Linked DNA regions of Homo sapiens: region 1 is linked to region 2. The links are contacts of gene promoters, found by promoter capture Hi-C in blood cells and fetal thymus (Javierre and others, 2016). All regions are on one chromosome and are shown on one strand. The core of a region is centred on a gene start or on the middle of the fragment in contact, and the rest is flanking DNA. Distances in the headings are between cores, read along the strand shown.

Region 1 (3,210 bases), core at 262-2,761, 320 kb after region 2:
TCTTTCCCCTTGTTAATTTCTGGAGAGTATAGCAAGATTTACAATATGAATTATGAAATTTTAAAATATTTTAAAATGCTTAATAGTTAAGTACATGACCTACATTAATATTAAATTATAGAAAAAGCTAGTCATTAACATAAGCAGCCACTCAGGTGTGGTGGCTTAAACCTGTAATCCCAGCACTTTGGGAGGCTGAGGCAGGAGGATGGCTTGAGCCCAGGAGTTCGAGACCAGCCTGGGCAACATGGCAAAACCCGGTCTCTACAAAAAATATAAAAATTAGCCAGTATGTACAGCGGTAAAAGAAAATGCATCACAATAATTAATAAAATGCTCTAATGGAGGGAAAAGAAGAAATTTTTTTTTAATTTTTCTTTTTGAGACAGAGTTTTGCTCTTGTTGCCCAGGCTAGAGTGCAATGGCACAATCTTGGCTCGCTGCAACCTCCGCCTCCCAGGTTCAAGAGATTCTCCTGCCTCAGCCTCCCACGTAGCTGGGATTTCAGGCGCCCACCATCATGGCTGGCTAATTTTGGTATTTTTAGTAGAGACAGGGTTTCACCATGTTGGCCAGGCTGTTCTTGAATTCTTGACCTCATGTGATCCACCTGCCTCGGCCTCCCAAAGTGCTAGGATTACAGGCATGAGCCACTGTGCCTGGCTTAAAAAAAGAAAATTTGTTCTTCAAAGACATTTCTATCCTAGCAGGGAATAGTGGCTCATGCCTGTAATCTCAGCAATTTGGGAGGCCGAGGAGAGCACATAGCTTGAGCCAAAGACCAGCCTGGACAACATGGCGAAACCTCGTCTCTATAAAAATATGAAAAATTCGCCGGGCGTGGTGGCATGCACCTGTGGTTCTAGCTACGCGGGAGGCTGAGGCGGGAAGACTGCTTGAGCCTCAGAGGTCAAGGATGCAGTAAACCATGATCATACCACTGCACTCCCAGCCTGGATGGAAGAGTGAGACCTTCATCTCACACACACACACAAAAGACGTCTATCCTAGTGGACGAAAATCTGGAATAGCAAATTATCTGTAATGAATCTGAAAGCTAATTATTCCAGGATTGCCATAGAATACACTGCAATAAACAAACTAATGGCTTGCTAGCATTGTGGATGCAGAGAGTGATCTTATAAACATGACCAAAAAGATGAAACAAGCACTTTTATATAGGTTGTGTATGATATGCTAAGACAGTACTTCAAACATTGCCACAAAGACTAAAAAACTCACATGATAGTAATGGTGATTAAGTCAGCAAATATCTCCCTGTATAATTTTCAGAATTTATATAATACTGCCTTGGGAGAAGAAATCAGCTTCCTAACTGGCCACATCACAATACAGCTTGAGCGAAAAAATTCTGCATTTTTTCTTGCACGGTGGACAACTACTAAGCTTACTTAAGACCAGCATGAACTACAAGACTACATATCAATTTCACTTGTACTTGATTACAAAACTCATCTATGACGAATGTAAAAGAATATCCACCTGTTGTACTGAAGAGTTTTGCAACCAAGTATCAAAAGGAGACAAGGAAGAGGTGAGTCAGAAAGATACAGAACATGGGTCAAAAGATCTACGGTTTTAAACATCCCACAAAAAAGCTTTATTAACAACCTAAAACGTCTATCTAATTCTGACCATGAGAGTATTAATATAAATCTATAGTTTTAGTAAGGTGGGTATGTTTTCTCCATTTATACAAAGAAATACATAAATCTAAGTCTGAATGAACAATGCACACAGAATTTACATGCTATGATTATCAGTGATTATAAAACTGATTATAAATGTTAAGGGTCCACAAGCATGTTAAACCATAGTGCAAATGTCACTACTCCTAATGTAATAGTAACAGCAGCAAATGAGAAACAATGAAGTTATTCTGTCTCCTTAAAAAAATCTACTCAAACATTCATATGATGGAAAATTATACCTAAAAGTATGTCTCTTATTTGGTGGTAACCAGAAAATTAAAAATTAATTAACAATTCAAAGAAAGGTCCTTACATTTGTCTAATTGTTTTTAATGTCATATGAAGAAATAGCAAGCTGGTAAAAAATGATTATTTTGTTGTACTTAATGTGTTCTGAAATTTCTTGGTGTCTTCTCAACGAAAAAACACATTAGATCTTATAACTGAGACAGGAGATTCGCAAGAGCCTGGGTTTGCTGGACTCACTAAAAGGCCAGGTACCATTGGTTTAAACTGCAGGCAACATGGTAAAAGACAAAAAGCTGGGCAATTTAAAGATGGTTAACCACCCCTCCCCTCCCCCCAAAAAAAACCTTGAGAAAAATGTTATGAACCAAAGAAATACATCATCTTCACAATAAACACATCCAAAATAATCGAAAGAGATTCACTGGGAAAAGTTGACCTTTGAACATCAAATGATGTTAAAAATCAGGAGATTTAAAACTTCATTTTATAAAACGCTATCCCTCCATCCACTGACAAATGGATAAACAAAATTCAGTATATTAATATAATGAAATTTTATTTGGCCATAAAAAGGAATGAACCACGGATACATACTACAACATGAATGAACATGAAAAACACTAAGCTGAGTTGCAGGAGCCAGTCATAAAAGACCAAATATTATTATTCCATTCAGATGAAATGTTCAGAAGAGGGAAATATGTAATGATAAAAAGTAGATTAGTGGCTGCCTTGTGGGGGATGAGGCTTAGGGTGACAGCTAAAGGGCATGGAGTTTCTTTTTGAGGTGATAAAAATGTTCAGTGATAACTGAACCTAACCATAAATATAGTAAAATACAGTGAGTATTTTAAATGGGTGGAATGTATGGTAAGTGAAACATATCTCAATCAAGCTGTTTAAAACAGGGAAAGGGTGGGAGGAATCCCACTGCCCCACCTACTTTCTTTTAGTGGTGTTAAAACCATTTAATCCCATAAGATATCATTCCCCAGGAGACATAATGCAGCACATCTTTTGCCCAGTAGGTCTCCAATACACAAATGCTAAGTGAGTTAATACACGGACGGTGAACAAAGAAATTTTACTGTTGCTTATATTTGAAAATCCTTTCTACTTTGAAAATATTAAAACCTAATATATCCATTTAAAAATCCACTGCCATTTTTCTATCCGGAAAAATCCAGTACATCTTTCAAATATTTGCGGGGCAAAAAAGCAAAAGCAAAAACAAAAACAAAACTTCTCA
Region 2 (3,216 bases), core at 368-2,867:
TGTGTTTCAAAAACAGAGGCCCTTGACACCTATAGACTACATCGTCCAAGGAAGAGGATGAATGATGTGGGCTGCAGACGTTTAACAGATGGGCTCCTCCCTGGCTAAATGACTCCCCAAGACTGGGGAAAGAAATAAGACTTGAACTGTGACCTATGGTGGAGATATGGCCCTATCTGAGCCCGATGCTCTGGGTGACCTCAGATGGGCACTGCTACGTGGCTGTCTATGTGGCTGACACCACACACTATGGCTAGAGAGGTTCTGCCAACCCAGCTGGGGTAGAGGAATTCAGAGTTCTTCTCACCACCCTTGGCTAGTGTCAACTTCTATCAGATTTCATTTCACTTTAGAAAATATGGAAATGTGGCATTTCATACATTCCTGGGATGTGGAACGTTCCTACCTGTTTCGTAAGTAGTACTATGATATATAATTCTACAGAAATATGTCACCATTTTTATCATTATTTTAATAGATTTCTAGCAATAGGTCAAAAGATATACACATTTTAAGGTTCTTTATATAAATGATAAAATTAGCAGATTCCTAGACCTGTAAGCAAAAGTATATATAAGACGCTAGATTCATCATAAAGTCTCCCTTTGGCCTCTGCCCCCAAACCATCCCAACATACCAACTCCTAAACATCCAAGGCCCACGGGAGCACATCCAGGCACTGGCTGGGCCCTCATCAAGGAAACCAGCAGTGTGCAGGCTACACTGCATAACTGCGGGGACAGGCAGGGCCTGGACACATACACACCAGCTCCACCACCCACAGTTTGGGTGAGCTTGTGTAGTTACTTCCTGGGGCTCCCATACAAAGTATCACAGGCTAAGTGGCTTCAACAACAAACATATATTGTCTCATGGTTCTGGAAGCTAAAAGTTCGCTATCAGGCTGTTGGCAGGGTTGGCTCTTTCTGAGGACTGTGGGGGAAGGATCTCGTCTAGGCCTCCCTCCTAGAAATCGCTGGCATTCCTTGGCTTACAGATGGCTGTCCTTCCTCTTCTCCCTGAGTCTTCACATGGTCTTCCCTCTGTGTCCAAATCTCCCTGGTTTTTCTACCAGTCATATTGGATCAGGACCCATCCTAATGACTCCTTCCTAACTTGATCATCCACAAAGACCCTTTTTCCAAATAACGTCACATTCACAGGTGGGGAAGGTTAGGATTTCAACACATTTCTTGGGGTCAGGGACACAATTCAATCCATAATACCTTGGCAAGTCTCCTATACTCTCTAACGCACTGTTTCCAGATCACGTCAACAGGGATGACACTGCCTTTCCCACTGCGAGGATTCAATTTAGATGACAAGTGAAAAGATAGGTCAATGATAGGTAGAGCATTGACCCAGTGTCTGGCCCATGGTTGTTGTTCAATAAACATTGGCTAAGTTATCAATGAAAATTCTTGCTATAAGTATCTCATGACACACACGTGGGATACACAGAAACCCATGCTCAACTGGGCAGGCACGTGTGTTTATGTGGCTCCCCAGTGTCCCTAGAGAAGATTCTCTCTTACTTTTCAGGTGTCTTTGGCCTTTTCCTCTTCCAGCCTCTACAAGCAGGTTGTTTGCCCAGACACAGACCTCTCTCCCACAAAGCCCACTTTGGAGATTGGCGCCCGCCTTCTGCTGCTAGTTAGTTGTTTGAAAAGTGCTGACGCTTCTCTTCATCCACCGTGCCAGGACTCCGTGCCAAAGCCGCCCACACAAGCAAGGCTCGCCCTGCATGCCAGGGTTTCAGAAAGTGGACCTGGCACCAACCAAGCGTAGAAAGAGAGGCCCTTGTGATACAGCCTCCCGACACACTCACACACACACACATACCAGCCAGAGACCAGAGACCCCAATCAGTACTTTTAAAAGGAATAAAAATTGCTCAATCTCTTTGATGATATTCAAAGAGTCTTTTTTAATATATGAAGAAGCACATTCTAAATTCTTAACACATCTGGTGTCACCCGCTCTTTTCCCCCTCTAAACCCTCTTAATTCCATAATTTAGAAGGTCTTAAGATACCGAAGGATCTCACTGAGGCATAATTGGATATCTTGTGCGTTCCAAGTTGCATCTGATGTCCCACCTCATCCCAGAAACTTTTCCACTGAGTTGGAGAGAAAAGATTTGGGGGTTCGGGGAGCAAGGACGGTGCTCTGCCTGCTCAAGTGGGCTTTGACAGAAAAGCTGAGCTGCCTGCAGGAAAATGTTTGCTATTCATTTTGCCCTGACACTCCAGGAGAGAAAGCACAATTTCTTTTGTGATTGGAGGTAATGTAATCTACAGGAAAATCAATGTGGGCTGACGGGAGAATCGCCCAGCTGATCTGCAGACCAGAGACACTGAATCACAGCAGCTGAAAGCGGCATGGCAGTGAGGCCGTTCCTGCAGCCTCCGGGAGAAAGTGGTCTTGGAAAGCTCACACCCTGGGGTGCTCCTAACCTCAAAGGAGCCCGTGGACCCAGCCGCCCAAGCCACCAAGAGTTAAGTGGCAAAGTGCTCAGTTGTGGGGACAGTGCTGGGGGTACAGAGGGCCACAACGTGCTCTGCTGGGTTACTGAGAACAGAGAGATACATACAGAAGAAGGAAGACAGACAGAGGACCTAAGATTGTAAGATACAGACAGAAAGAGATAGGGAGGGAGCAAGAAATAGACACACACACACACGCATGCACACACACACACACACACACAAAACAGGGACCTCTGTTTCAAATTGTCCCCTACTACAAATTGTCCTTTACTACTTTTTAAATTAAAAATTCAGACAATGTCCCCACCATCCCCAAACAGCAATTACTTTAGTAATCAGGAAAGAAAATGTTGCAAAAATAAATAAATAAATAAGATAGACTTAACAAAAAATAACTCTCGCCACCCAAGAAACATCTGCGCATCTGCTGGCCCCTTACTGGTCTGGTTCAGCTGACTTCAGCACTCACAGCAGCAGCGGCGGCGGCAGCAGCACCAGCAGCAAAGTTAGCAGGTGTCACCCCAATGTGGCCGCAAACCGCTTCTCAGGATTCAGAGACATAAATCAGAACAACAGGCCCATACTACCCCCTTCCCATATGTCCCCTGTACCTAAGCCACAACCACTCACAGGCTTCTGGCCCCTGGACGCTTGCTTTAAGGCATTACAAACACCCACCCCCCAACTTTGGAGGTGAGGGTGCTTTTCTAGAATCTCTGTAACCTTTC

What was found. The method cuts DNA at HindIII sites, captures the fragments that hold promoters and counts their contacts. A CHiCAGO score of 5 or more calls a contact.
Region 1: a fragment that was not itself captured here is called in contact with the fragment with the promoter of LINC03041 in region 2 in 1 of 17 cell types (M1 macrophages); the score reaches 6.5 in M1 macrophages.

Annotation. Positions count from the first base shown.
Region 1 is chr9:16,589,828-16,593,037 of GRCh38, forward strand. All of the region lies in intron 3 of BNC2 (basonuclin zinc finger protein 2), which reads right to left. Among named protein-coding and RNA genes, the nearest start is that of BNC2-AS1, 140 kb to the right of the region's middle. The HindIII fragment of the contact is 212 bases long and covers 1,406-1,617 here.
Region 2 is chr9:16,274,696-16,277,911 of GRCh38, forward strand. It overlaps LINC03041 (long intergenic non-protein coding RNA 3041), which reads right to left and starts at 1,618. Exons shown (of 4, transcript NR_171034.1): 1 at 1,536-1,618. The HindIII fragment of the contact is 10,629 bases long and covers 1-3,216 here.